5 separate regions of the Homo sapiens genome follow, and regions 2, 3, 4 and 5 are each linked to region 1. Evidence: promoter capture Hi-C in 16 types of primary human blood cells and fetal thymus (Javierre and others, 2016). All regions are on one chromosome and are shown on one strand. Each heading gives the region's core, a stretch centred on a gene start or on the middle of the fragment in contact. The rest is flanking DNA. Distances are from core to core; before and after follow the strand shown. Region 1 holds the start of RNPC3 (RNA binding region (RNP1, RRM) containing 3). Region 2 has its middle 2.8 kb from the start of ALG14. Region 3 has its middle 5.4 kb from the start of PTBP2. Region 4 overlaps PTBP2 (polypyrimidine tract binding protein 2). Region 5 overlaps DPYD (dihydropyrimidine dehydrogenase).

Region 1 (2,746 bases), core at 81-2,580:
TTTTTTTTAATTTGCAGGCATAAGTGACATTTAAACTGATCAAAATTGGTCTTTCTTCTAATTCAGTAACTCTCAACTTGGGCTGCACATTAACATTAAAATCACCTAGGGAAACTTTAAAACCACTGAGTCTTGCACCATCGCTATTCCTATTTTAATGAAGAGAAATCTAAAATATCTTTGGATATAAAGCAAAACAAAGTAATTGTGTAAATTCCTACACAGGTACTCTTAACAGCCCTAAAAAATTGTTCCCTAAAAGATGTCATCGGGAAATTTTTATGAAAAGCCTCTTTTTCTAGTTGAAATTCTGCATTTAATTTACGCAAGTCACCAATGTAGCTTCTCCTCTATTTTAATGAACGATTTAACATTGGCTTATAAATGAAGTAGGACTTTAAAAAATCCCTTGATGCACATTTGTAAGAATACTCTTGAGTCCAGGAGAAATAACCCCAAATTCAAAAAAGTTGTGAGGCTCTCAGGATGGATCCGAAAACTCAATATAACTAAGCTAATTTCCATTCTTCTGCTTTGTCGTTCTCACTTGCCCTTTTCTGCAGTGCTATGACTAATCCAGACTCGAGCCGATTAAAACTCCACTTCGCAGAGCAGATATTTTGATAAAAAAGAGGTAGGATGGGGGAGCTCTCATCACACAAGTCCATCTTCCCCACTCGTTTCCATTTTACTCTTGTCAGCGCTCCCCCTCCCCGGTCACTTCCCAAATGCCTTCCCGGGAGACTCCGGAGGGGCGCGCCCTTACCAGTCGCCCCTTATCTGACAGGACCCGCACAGACTGAGCCCCGAAGTACTTCAGCAAGTCCTCTTTCTCCTCAGCAGTAAGCTCAGCCGGCAGGTGCCTGACCAGAAGGGTTCGGTCGCCCCGAGGCGGGGAAAGCGAGGAGGAGCTCGTGCATCCCCTTGATATCGCAAGCGGCTGCTCGGGAGCTGCCATTTTCCTTGGAGAAGCAAAAACAGAAATCGTGGGAAGAAGTCTCAGTCAAAATCGCGGCATCAACACAAGCTGGGAGAAATATTTTTTCCGCCTCGCGCTAAGGATTCTGGAAACCAGGAAATACCGAGAAAGAAAGTCACCTTCTCGCGAGAACTGCGCCACCGAAAAGCGGCAACCCTTCGAAGACTCTTCGGGGAAGGGCGCGGTGCTAATGATTTAAATTCCAGGGGTCTCCGGAAAGACTTACAAGCAAAAATTGGCCCAGAGATGTGCGAGGGTTAACACAAGTTGTCAATCAAAGAAGGAAACAGGAACCCCAGCCACTTCAGGGAAAGAAGGTTGACGCTCAAGGACAAGAGGACTCACGACTGCGCATGTGCGGGCTGGGACCGTCACAGGGCGGGGCGGGGCGCACGGCGGGGCGGGGCGCACGGCGGGGCGGGGCGCACGGCGGGGCGGGGCGCACGGCGGGGCGGGGCGCACGGCGGGGCGGGGCGCACGGCGGGGCGGGGCGCACGGCGGGGCGGGGCGCACGGCGGGGCGGGGCGCACGGCGGGGCGGGGCGCACGGCGGCGAGCGCTATCTGGAGCTGACCGTGCGGCTCTTAATCCCTGGCCTTGGGAAAGTGAATTGGCCTGAATAGCAAGGAGGAGAACTTGGGTGTGGAAATACCGGGTATGTTCTTACAGTATTTAGATGGTAAAATATAAAGCTAGCCAGTTATTCTGTCAACTCATTAGACACCATTGTAGGGAGGAGAACTCAGTTTAAGGGGCAAAACGTTGAGAGTTCAGACTTTTTTCTTGAATCAGTAGGCATTTAGCAGACGGATAGGCCCCTGCCAGGGTTCATTTCGCAGAAATGGCAGCCTCTAGGGAGAGGTAACCTAATAAATAAATTATTGCATGTGTGTGTATGTGTGTGTGTGTAGGGGTGTGTGTGTGTGTGTGTGTGTATGTGTGTGTGTGTGTAGGTGTAGGTACTTTTCTCCCTATTTTACAGCTGAGGACACTGATGTACAAAGAGGTTAAATCACACAGCTAGAAAGTGGAAGAACTAAGTTTTGACCCTTGGTGTTCTGACTGGGGGTCTACATTCTAATCCACTGTTCTGCCTAGATTCTGAATGGAGTGAGGCAGGGATCATCCCCGGAGGGTCAGGAATGTACCCCTCACCCCATACAGAGAGGGCCTTGAGGATTCTAAAGAGAGGTTTTATGCTAGATGTAGCTGCTACAGTCTGGAGAACCAGAGTTCCTCTTACAGTTCTTTTTGCCACTTAAATAAATGTTAGAGATACAGCAGTAAGCAGTATACCAGCAATCTGCTGTCATCCCGCATTGGTTGGGGAAAAGGAGAGAGACAGATATTAATGAAAACTAGAAGACAAACATGAGAAGAACCTTCCCCACACACCCACCAAAATATCAGATAGGTAGAGCCAGACCACGTAGACGCTGTAGATTTGTTAGGAGCCCTTTTTATTTGAGGAACATTTAGAAACTGACAAATTCTTTAAGTAGGTGTGTGTTGAGGGGAGAGAATCAAAGTTTAGGTATGAAAATTTCTCCGGTTGCAATGCAAAAAACAGAAGCAGAAAGACCAGTTGGACTACTGTAGAAGTCTGGAGAAAAACACTACCATAATAGTTTGGTGAAAGTGGACATGTAGAGAAGGAACTGGAATTGAGATACGTTTTAGAAGTAGTTGATAGGAACTTGCAGATGAAGAATAGTAAGCAAGGATAAATTCTGGATTTTTGGCTTAAGCTAGATATTATCCATCTGTA
Region 2 (2,746 bases), core at 165-2,664, 8.5 Mb after region 1:
GGTTGAGGCTGCAGTGAGCTGAGAGCGCATCACTGCATGCCAACCTGGGTGACAGAGTGAGACCCTGTCTCAGAAAAAAAAAAAAAAAAATCACCTCCCAGACATGCTTTACTTATGACTGGTTATAGACCACATATCGTTATTCATTTTGTCAACTATTAACATAGTTTTCATGCTTTTTGCAGCACTATAATTTACTTCCATGAATCTGTTAAATGTACTGTCAGCGCAACTCATCTTCCCAAGAGAAATTTTAATTGTTGCTTCTTCTCACTCAGTCTTAACTTTCCTGATTAATCCACTATAGCTTTTTTTTTTTTTTTTTGAGACAGAGTTTCGATCTTGTTGCCCAGGCTGGAGTGCAATGGCACGATCTCAGCTCACTGCAACCTCCCCCTCCCGGGTTCAAGCAATTCTCCTGCCTCAGCCTCCTGAGTAGCTGGGATTACAGGCATGTGACACCATGCCCTGCTAATTTTGTATTTTTAGTAGAGACGGGGTTTCTCCATGTTGGTCAGGCTGGTCTGAAACTCCCGATCTCAGCTGATCCACCCTCCTCAGCCTCCCAAAGTGCTGAGATTACAGGCATGAGCCACCGCACCTGGCCTTTTTTTTTTTTTTTTTTTTTTTTTTTTTTTTGAGACAGGGTCTCTGTCACCCAGGCTGGAGTGCAGTAGTGCAAATATGGCTCACTGCAGCCTTGATCTCTTGGGTTTAAGCAAACCTCCCACCCCAGCCTCCTGAGTAGCTGGGACTACAGGTACACACCACCATCATGCCTGGTTAATTTTTTACAGAGATAGGGTCTCACTCTGTTGCCTTGGCTGGTCTCAAACTCTGAGGTTCAAGTGATCCTCCTGCCTTGGCCTCCTAGATTGCTGAGATTACAGGCATGAGCCACCATGCCTGGCCCACTACAGCTTCTTGACTTCTTGATTATCTATACATTCTGTGTCTGTCACAGCCCAGGACTTGGCTTACCCAGGTGACATTTTTGGCAGGAATTCTCAGCTATGTTCCTGTCCCTGCCTGCTACCTAGCTGCTCCCTGCAGTTCTCAACTTTCTTGGCAGGAAAACTAAAGAGTTTTATGATCACCTTAATTCAGAATAATTCAACCAATAAGTCCAAACAATGTCTGGTACCCCACCCTCTTTGATTCTCTGCATTTCCTTGCAAGCCCCCAATGTTTGATTGCTTCCATTCATTCCAGCTACATGCCAAGTGTGGTCAAACTAATATTTCCTACAGATATAGGTAATTATAATAGTGAGGGGATGAAGTAATGGGAAATGCAAGGGTGTCCTCCAAGTATTAAATCTACCTTAATATAGAGCTTGGGGCCTGGAGCTAAGTAATTATCATATGCCTGACATTTTCATTGCATGTGTCAGTTTACAAAGCTGTTTCAGACACATCATCATCACAGCAATCTAGATGCTATTGTTTGCCTACCCAACAACCCTCCCTGCAGCTTCCTCCTCACTGAGAGAATGCCTATTTTGTTCAGTACCCACCCTCCATCCAACAGCCATGTATTACAGGTGAGTTGTAGATCATCCTCCTCCCACCTCCACCAGCTTTGAAGTCGCTTTCCTTTTATGCCTGGGAAAGTGATATAAGTATGGCCAAAAGGAGTGAAAGAAAGTCTGCTGTGAGGGGTTCTAGAATAAGTTTCCTTGCCTTTAAAAAAATAAAAAATAAAGCAGGCCGGGCGTCATGGCTCACCCGTATAATCCCAGCACTTTGGGAGGCTGAGGTGGGCGGATCATGAGGTCAGGTTCAAGACCAACCTGACCAACATGGTGAAACCCCGTCTCTACTAAAAATACAAAAATTAGCTGGGTGTGGTGGCGCATACCTGTAGTCCCAGTTACTTGGGAGGCTAAGCCAGGCGAATTGCTTGAATCCCAGAGGTGGAGGTTGCAGTGAGCCGAGACCGTGCCACAGAGCAAGACTGGGGGGGAGGGGCAAAAAAGACCCGACAAGATAACCTCTTTTTTGGCTATGGAGATTGCCCTGTTGGATGTAACCATCCACACATCCCATTCTGGGACCACTAGTGTCTTAAGTATCAGGTAAGACTGTTTCAGGTTGAAGACATTATTAGGAATGGCAGAGTGGGCATATACAAGTAAATGATACTCCTTGTATTATCCTTGAGCTGTTTTTCTTACTACACCAAAGACCCTACCTCTGGACTTCCAACTACGCATTTGTAAGCCCAGAGAATTCTGATTCCATTAAAATTTGAGAGACACTGACTTCTAAGTCCACAACTATGAACTTTCTCCACCCTTACTAGCTAAGTAGACTTAGGCAAATTATTTAACTTTTATGGAATCTACTTCTTTGTCTGTAAAAAGGGAACTAATATCCACTTTAAGGTCTTACTGCGAGAATGTATAGTTAAGAAGATTTGATGGAGCCGGGCGCAGTGGCTCATGCCTGTAATCCCAGCACTTTGGGAGGTAGAGGCGGGCAGATCACCTGAGGTTAGGAGTTCGAGACCAGCCTGGCCAACATGGTGAAACTCTGTCTCTACTAAAAAAAAAAAAAAAAAAAATAGCCAGGCATGGTGGTGCATGCCTGTAGTCCCAGCTACTTGGGAGGCTGAGGCAGGAGAATCGCTTGAACCTGGGAGGTGGGGGTTGCAGTGAGCCAAGATTGTGCCACTGCACTCCAGCCAAGCGACAGAGTGAGACTCTGTCTCAAAAAAAAAAAAAAAGAAAAGAAAAGAAAAGAAA
Region 3 (2,746 bases), core at 117-2,616, 6.8 Mb after region 1:
ACCAATATGTAATTCTCTCCTATATTGGATCTCTGGTTTCCTAGATCCCATATCTTCTTTCCTGATATATTCCCTCATCAGGAAATACACCTTCCAGAAGGTTCCAGAGAAAAAAATCCATAGGAAACACTTTTTTTTAATATATTGTGTATTCAGAGATATGTTTATTCTATTTTCACATGTTATTGATAGTTTGGAAAGCAATGCTTTTTCTCAGTACTGTACTTGTAAACTTTATACTATGTCTACTTGGAGGGGGTGTCATAAAGATAAAAAGCATATACTTTTTACTCCTGCTCTCCAGCTACTGAGTTCCATGTTCCAGAGGCAAACCATCTTACCAGTTAATTACATATTTTTTCAGAGATGTTCAAAGACATATATTGATTATATATATATAGTTTTTCTTTTGATTCAAAAGTGGTAACTATTATGCACACTATTCTGAAACATTTTTTCGACTTTAAAAATTTACATCTTAGAGATCTTTCCTTATCAGTATGTTTAGAGCTGCCTCATTCTTTATATACACCTGCATAATATTCCACTGAATAAGTAAATCATGATTTATTTATCTAGATCATATTGAGGAACATTTAGATTGCCTCCATTCTTGCTATTTACACACAATTCTGCAATGAATATCCTTGTTTCTGAGATGTTCCCTGCAAGTGTGAATATGTCTTCTGGATAAATACTATAAATAAAAATTACTAGATAGAGTAGAGTATATTTTTTATTTTAAAAGAGACTGTCAAGTTGCCTACATGAGCGTGAGCCTTGGTGTAAAATATTAGCAATTCCTACCATTTAAAAAGGGAAGCGTACTGATTTCTTTAATACATAAGGAGTTCCTACAAATACAAAATCAAAAGCCAACAGTCAAATAGAAAAATTGGTAAAGCATATGAATAGATTATGACATATTACAGGAAAGTAAAAACAAATATGCTCAGCCTCATTTTAAAGCAATTCAAGGTGAAACTGTACTAAGATACTTTTTTCACTTGTCAACACCCCTTGTAGGCAGACTAGCACAAAGCTTCTGAGTGCAGTACTGAGAAAAAGTATTCCTTTCCAAACTATCAGTAACATATGAAAATGGAATAAACATAAATCTAGATACACCAAATGTCAAAAATTTGTTTTCTATGGATTTTTTTTATTTGGAATTTTCTGGAAGATGTATTTCCCAATGAGGCTAATGCACCAGGAAAGAAGATGTTGTACCCAGGAAACCAGAGATCCACTATAGAAGAGAAGAAAATTGTATGTTGGTGAAAGAAGCTTCAACAGCTATGCAGCAGTCCTATGGTTACAATGGAATATGAGACCAGAAGGCTCAAGGAAAGACGTATCTGAGAAAAATATGGAACTTTTATAGATAAAATATAATATGTCTGTATATGTTTAGTACAGGTTTGTGGTGCTATTGGTAAGCTTAGGGAAAGCATTAATCAAAAACACATGAAATATGTTTTAAATTAACTACAGGGTAAGGAAAAAGTTGTAAAGAAATATAATTATAGCACACTCTGTGGCTCGGTTTGTGAAAGTAATTACATCTTCACAATAATATAAGCACTGAATACTAATAAAATTAAGATTGTGAAACAATTTTGTCAGAGAAGGAAGAGAAATACGGATGTGCACATATGTGTATGTGGTAGGGTTATAAACTCTCATCTTCAAAAGTAGGAAGTCAGCAGAATATGTCTAGAATTAATAGGTGAGAAAATGGCACACAAACATATTTTTCAGAAGTATGGAGGTAAATATCACGATGATTAGGGAGAATTGAAAAGTATACTCTTCTATCTCTTATGCTTCTGGGGCATCGCACCACAGGATGAGAAATAAAAAGAAGAGTATACTTTTGAATTTTGTTTTTGTTGTAAGCCAAAAATAAAATTTGAAGCCCCTCCCCTCCAACTGAATGGACTCCTCCTCTTGGCCAATGGCATTCCAAAGTTAACCCAAAACACGTGTTCAGGCCCTGATGGGAATGGGTGGCCTCACTATACCCTCCTGTCTTCAGAATCCTGTCTTCAGGAGCTGACCAGCATTAACATCAAAACAGAGATCTTAACACAATCTATTCTCTCTAAAACCTGCTACCTGGAAGCTTCATCTGCATAATAAAAACTTTGGTTTCCACAAGCCCTTATCTTAAACCAGACCCTCCCTTCTATTGATTCCAGGTCTTTAGATAAACTCTTTCAACTAATTGCCAATCACCAAATCTTTGAATCCACCTATGACCTGGAAGCCCCTGCTTTGAATTATCCTGCCTTTTCAGATAGAACATGTATTAATTGATATCTTATGTCTCCCTAAAACATATAAAAACAAGCTGTAGCCTGACCACATTGGGCACATGTTCTCAGAACCTCCTGAGGCTGTCATAGACATGTCCTTATCCTTGGCAAAATAAACTTCTAAATTGATTGAAACCTGTCTCAGATACTTTTGGTTTAAAAATGTCATGTAAATCTTCCAAAACTATTTACTTTTTAAGCTATGGGCATGTGTTACTTTGATAAAAATAAATTTTACATTAAAAAAGAGAAGGAATTAGATGGCAGTGAGCAAAGGACCGTTTTAGCACAAACATTGCCTCTTTTGTATTCAGCAATAGTGACTGCTTATCTCCATGTTTACTGAAAAAAGCTCAGCATAGCTGGCTGTCCTTCCTATATTGCGCACATAATAAAGATTATTCTTGGAAGAGAACACAATAGTTTGA
Region 4 (2,746 bases), core at 108-2,607, 6.8 Mb after region 1:
CTCTAATATTAACACGTTAGAATATGCATATTAATGCTTACAGTAGCAGTTTGTAATGGAAAAAAATTTAAAATATTTGACAAATCAATCTCGTCAAATATTAACTCATTTGTCAAGATGATATATTCATATATCATATACTATATGGCAATGAAAATATATATATATATAAACTTAACAAAAATAACACTGAACAAGAAAAGCAAATTACAGAATACATACAGCATGATAGTACATCTATAGTTTAAACATGCAAAACAAAACCATATATTGCTTAAGATAAAAATACATAAACATGTAGTAAATGAGAAATTTATGGGAATGGTAAACATCAAATTTAGTATAGTAATTACCTGGAGTGGAGAAGTATGGGTCAACTATATGCAGGGTATTATCAACTCAATGCTTATGTTTCCCCAAAAATCACATGCTGAAGTCCTAACCCCAAATGTGATGCAATTTTGAAACAGGGCCTTTAGGAGTTAACTGGAGGATTTCATGAGATCATGAGAGTAAGGCCTTCATGATGGGATTAATGCCTTTATGAGAAGAAATACCAGAGAGCTTCTGCCACCCACTCCCCCAAAGTGTGCTCACAAAGAAAAGGTCATGTGAGGCACACAAAGTAAAATGGTGGCCTCACTTCAAGAGAAGTGGCCTCAGAAGGAAAGTTGCCTTGCTGGTACCTTGATCTTGGACTTCCCAGTTTCCAGAACTGTGAGAAAACGAATCTCTGTTTTTTAAGTCACTCAGTCTATGGTATTTTGTTATGGAAGTCTGAGTTATGACACAGGGGGCTTCAAATGAACTTTTGTGTACCACAATGGAATGCTATGTAGCCTTAAAAAGGGAGGAAATCTTGTCACATGCTACAAAATGGATGGACCCTGAGGACATTATATTAAGTGAATATAAGCCAGTCACAAAAGGACAAACACAACCTGAGCATTCCTAATCTGAAAATCTAAAATCCAAAATGCTCCACTAAGCACTTCCTTTGAGCATCAAGTAAGTGCTCAAAAAGTTTCAGATTGGCCAGGCGCGGTGGCTCAGGCCTGTAATCCCAGCACTTTGGGAGGCCGAGGCAGGCGGATCACGAGGTCGGGAGATAAGAGTCCATCCTGGCTACAGTGAAACCCCGTCTCTACTAAAAAATATATATATATATACAAAAAATTAGCCGGGCGTGGTGGCGGGCGCCTGTAGTCCCAGCTACTCAGGAAGATGGCGTGAACCCGGGTGGTGGAGCTTGCAGTGAGCAGAGATCGCGCCACTGCACTCCAGCCTGGGCGACAGAGTAAGACTCCGTCTCAAAAAAAAAAAAAAAAAAAAAAAAAACACACACCAGTTTCAGATTTTGTAGCATTCAGACTTTGGATTTTCAGATTAGGGATGCTTAACCTATACTGTATAATTCCACTTATGTGAGGTATTTAAAGTAGTCAAATTCATAGACACAGAAAATAGAATGCTGGTTACCAGCAGAAGGACAAAAGAGGGAGTTTTAAAATCAGTATAGAGTTTCAGTTCTCCAAAAAGTTCTGGAGATGGGTTTTGCAATGTAATATTATTAAGTACGTATAAGAATAATTAAACAATTTAAGTGTACACTTAAAAATGGTTAAGATAGTAAATTTTATGTGTTTTTTTGTACAATTAAAAAGATTTATATCAAGTTATGCAACGTTTTTTAAAGAAACAAGAAAATATCAGGGTTTAATCAATTAAGCAACATTAATAACTTTATCAATATTAATAACTTTATCATAAAATACTTAAAATGTGGAATATAGAGAAAATATATAAAGAATTACAAAAAACTAATCCCATCAACCTGGAGAAAACTACTCTATTTTGGTACACTGCCCTCCAGCTTTTGGGGACACATATAAATTGTATGCATTTGTCAAAGTTATTTTTAATCCTACTTTTCACACATATGAAAAATATTTAAAAAACATTTGTAATGTTTATGAACAGAATTTATTCATTGTCTTATCACTGAACAGTTGTTATTTCTACTATTTAAATAATGCTGTAATCAGCATCTAAAAAATATACTTATCTGATCATTTTTTCCTTATGAGTTACTAGACATAAAATACTAGGAAAAGAATACGAAACAAAGCATTATTTTCTAAAGCACTACTCCTACATTAGAAGTGTCCATTTCAGCCCAGATTTTTTAAAGTGGTATTTTGGTATTTAAACCGACATATATTTGAATTGTACATAAGAGAGAAAGATTATAAAGAGCTCCTACCAATATCATTGTCTTATTTAATCTTCACAACAATCATGCAAGTTAGAAATTATTATCCTCAATATTACAAACTAGGAAAGGGAAATTCAGATTATAAAAGACTTGTTCATAATCACTTAAGTACAACAGGGGCTCAAACCCAATCAATCCAACAATGCAAAGTATTTCCGAGGCGGGCGGATCACAAGGTCAGGAGATCTAGACCATCCTGGCTAACACGGTGAAACCCCATCTCTACTAAAAATACAAAAAATTAGCCAGGTGTGGTGGCAGGCACCTGCAGTCCCAGCTACTCGGGAGGCTGAGGCAGGAGAATGGCCTGCAGTGAGCCGAGATCCCACCACTGCACTCCAGCCTGGGCAACAGAGCGAGACTCCATCTCAAAACAAACAAACAAAAAAAACTCACCTTATTAATTCAATCAAACCAAAGCCAAGCAAGAGTTTATATATATATATACCACTCCTTTTTATAATAGTTGAA
Region 5 (2,746 bases), core at 128-2,627, 5.6 Mb after region 1:
CTGGTGTGTGTTCATATTAAGGAAATGCTGAGATATTGGCTCCTCGATTTACATACTTGGTAGGATTGAGTGTACTATTTATACCAGCTGTATGAATTTCATGTGCTTATTCACCTGATTTTAAACTTTTTTAATGTCTGCTTGCTGCCTTTTCTTTTTTAATCTGATGAAGTAGCTAAATCTAAATTTCGCCTGAGAATACAAGAAAAGTTCAATCGTACTATATATGGCTGGAGTTCTGTGTAAGGGTGATCTGGAATTAACAAATTTACATTTTGTATGTTTAGGATTATGCTGTCTTTAACTAGAAATTAAGACCAGAGATTCGAAAAAGGAGATGGGACTCTTTATGCCAATTTCTTCAGTGTGTTTGTTGATTGATGATTGTAGGTGAAAACCATGGCATAAGCAATGGGGTCCCCAGAATTCAAGCTATACTAATCTGACTCCTTGTACCACAGTGACCTGAGAGCTTTGCGGGACTTCTTTCAGATATTTCTCTATGCCAAATATTGAGGAGTGCTGGGGTAAAAATTTAAACTTCTCCACAGTTCAAAGAAGAAAGGCATTCAGTTCCCCTTACAGATCTCTAGGGGTAACGTGTGTTACCGTTCACCACAAAATGTTCATTCCTGTTAACTTTTAGTGTAACCTTAGTGTAATAAAAGTGTTAACTTTTATTATGCTTTATTTCCCCGATTTGATTTTTAAATTATTTTTCATGATTATTACAGAAGATTTAAAACATACAAAAAACTAAAATCAAAAGATGACCCCAAAGATACATAGTCATCCCACTCAAGTCATCCACGTAATATTGATGTAGTACATTTCTTTCCTGTGCACGAGGTAATCTTTCCCTAAATACTTTTAGTCATATATAATTTGATATTTGTTTTCTTGTCCTATCAAAAGCATTTCTTTATATTCATATTAACTTCAGTTTTAAGTCACGGCGTAACATTCCTTGTGAGTGGAGATATCAAAATGTATTCAAGCCTCTCTCTTATTATCATACATTTACCTTGTTTTTTAGTAGTCAGTTATTAAGAACAATGTTTCAGCACAATTTTTTTTTATTTGCTTAAAGCATTGTGCTGGAAATACACTTGAGAGTGTTGGCTCAATGATATATAGTGCATTTTGGTTCTGCCGTTCTCGTTTGCATGCTTCAACTGAATTAAGTGTCTTTAAAAATATGTTTTAAAAAAGGAAAAGGGGACCATTTTGGGGTGCAAAGACAGAAGGAGCAAAATGGAAATGGAACCAGTTTAACCGTTTGCCTCATCTTCCTAACACTGATTCTAGGTAACAGAACGGGCAGGCATCTGGATGTAGTTCCCTTTGATGTGGATGTGACTTCCTTTTAACTCAGTGCTGATAATAGCGTTTCTTTCTGGAGAATGGCTTGACAGCGTGCATGGTTCCTAATTTTTTCTGCCCTGGGAGAAAAGGAAGAGTAAGGTTGGACCTCAGGTTGTTATCTTGGATGGAACATTCATAAACCTCAGATTATTGTCGTGAATGGATAAATCTCAGGTTGTTATCTAGAATGAGTAAATGTAATACTAACTGCAGCTGTCTCATTATGTGATGGAAACTTTTATATTATCCCAGCCTTCTCACCCTCACCCCAAGAACAAACCACTCTGGCAGACCAGATTCTCAAAGAATTATTTTATCCTAGCCTGCCTTTACTTTGAAGTATGGGTTGTCATGTGTGTGCATGTGCATATGCACTAGCATGTGTGTGTACATTTTCTTTTTTTTTTCTTCCTGGTACTCAGAGAAGAAAGGGTCCGTGAGTGTAACTACTTTTGACTCAACACATTTTTCTCCCACATACAAATTAAATGAAGCAAAACATACTTCTTCCTTGGGTGTGCCAACCAAAATGACTCTTGATTTTTGCTACATTTTAAAGCTAAAGTTTACTTGCAACCCAGACTCCAGACATTGGTATGCTTAAGGCTCTGTCTTTTCTGAAAGAGATAAAAACATTTGCAGAGAAAAATTTGTATGTAGCTCATGAAAATTAGTGCCCATCACCCCTTTCATTCCAAGACTGGACAGTAAGAAACAAAACTTAAGCATCCTTTATGCTTAAGATCACAATATTATAGGATCCTAGAAGGGAATCATCAATGGTAGGTATGACTACTTTAAGGATTTGAAATATTTTCAAGTTGATGTCTACATAGTACTACTAATTAATATAGCTGCTAGCAGCTGTATGAGTATGTATAAAATGATACCCTTTCAAGTGTTAATAAAAATTATTTTTTAAATAAACAATTAGGTGAAACTTTTGTGTGATTCGTTTAATTTGTATTTGTTTGAATATTGGTAAATTTTAAACATTTTTCCACATTTTAAAATATTTTGGGTTTTATTTTAAACAAATTATTTTAACAACATTTTAATGTAAGAGTAAAATAAAAAAATGTAAATAAGAATACAAATAAGAAAAGTAGAAGTATAACAGATTTTAAGAAAACTAGATGCTAATGTATCATGAGATCACAACAAAATGAATGTTATCTTGGAAACATAAAATCTCCCCAAACCTCAGATAAATTCAGAAACAGCAGTAGACTGATAACCTCTGTCCTTTATAATATTTATTGATGATGAGTAACAGATAATTAATATTTAGTCTGATTGTAGTGGAAGGACAGCATAGATTTGTGGTTAAGAGTATAGACTCTGGAATTAGAGTGCTAATGTTCACAGCCTAGCTCTGCCA

Evidence for each region. The method cuts DNA at HindIII sites, captures the fragments that hold promoters and counts their contacts. A CHiCAGO score of 5 or more calls a contact.
Region 2: a contact is called between a fragment that was not itself captured here and the fragment with the promoter of RNPC3 in region 1, in 3 of 17 cell types (activated CD4 T cells, total CD4 T cells and naive CD4 T cells). The highest score is 17.0, in activated CD4 T cells.
Region 3: a fragment that was not itself captured here is called in contact with the fragment with the promoter of RNPC3 in region 1 in 3 of 17 cell types (activated CD4 T cells, total CD4 T cells and total B cells); the score reaches 7.0 in activated CD4 T cells.
Region 4: a fragment that was not itself captured here is called in contact with the fragment with the promoter of RNPC3 in region 1 in 1 of 17 cell types (total CD4 T cells); the score reaches 7.1 in total CD4 T cells.
Region 5: a contact is called between a fragment that was not itself captured here and the fragment with the promoter of RNPC3 in region 1, in 1 of 17 cell types (non-activated CD4 T cells). The highest score is 8.2, in non-activated CD4 T cells.

The regions. Positions count from the first base shown.
Region 1 is chr1:103,524,283-103,527,028 of GRCh38, reverse strand. RNPC3 (RNA binding region (RNP1, RRM) containing 3) reads right to left here and starts at 1,330. Exons shown (of 15, transcript NM_017619.4): 1 at 767-1,330. The coding sequence starts at 958. RNPC3-DT (RNPC3 divergent transcript) reads left to right here and starts at 1,521. Exons shown (of 4, transcript NR_168321.1): 1 at 1,521-1,633. RefSeq lists an enhancer at 879-1,118 and a silencer at 1,439-1,538. The HindIII fragment of the contact is 7,657 bases long and covers 1-2,746 here.
Region 2 is chr1:95,074,328-95,077,073 of GRCh38, reverse strand. No RefSeq gene overlaps it. Among named protein-coding and RNA genes, the nearest start is that of ALG14, 2.8 kb to the right of the region's middle. The HindIII fragment of the contact is 4,740 bases long and covers 1-2,746 here.
Region 3 is chr1:96,715,031-96,717,776 of GRCh38, reverse strand. No RefSeq gene overlaps it. Among named protein-coding and RNA genes, the nearest start is that of PTBP2, 5.4 kb to the left of the region's middle. RefSeq lists enhancers at 1,117-2,044, 2,045-2,746. The HindIII fragment of the contact is 153 bases long and covers 1,290-1,442 here.
Region 4 is chr1:96,738,211-96,740,956 of GRCh38, reverse strand. All of the region lies in intron 2 of PTBP2 (polypyrimidine tract binding protein 2), which reads right to left. Among named protein-coding and RNA genes, the nearest start is that of PTBP2, 18 kb to the right of the region's middle. The HindIII fragment of the contact is 4,459 bases long and covers 1-2,746 here.
Region 5 is chr1:97,910,613-97,913,358 of GRCh38, reverse strand. All of the region lies in intron 1 of DPYD (dihydropyrimidine dehydrogenase), which reads left to right. Among named protein-coding and RNA genes, the nearest start is that of DPYD, 9.0 kb to the left of the region's middle. The HindIII fragment of the contact is 6,602 bases long and covers 1-2,746 here.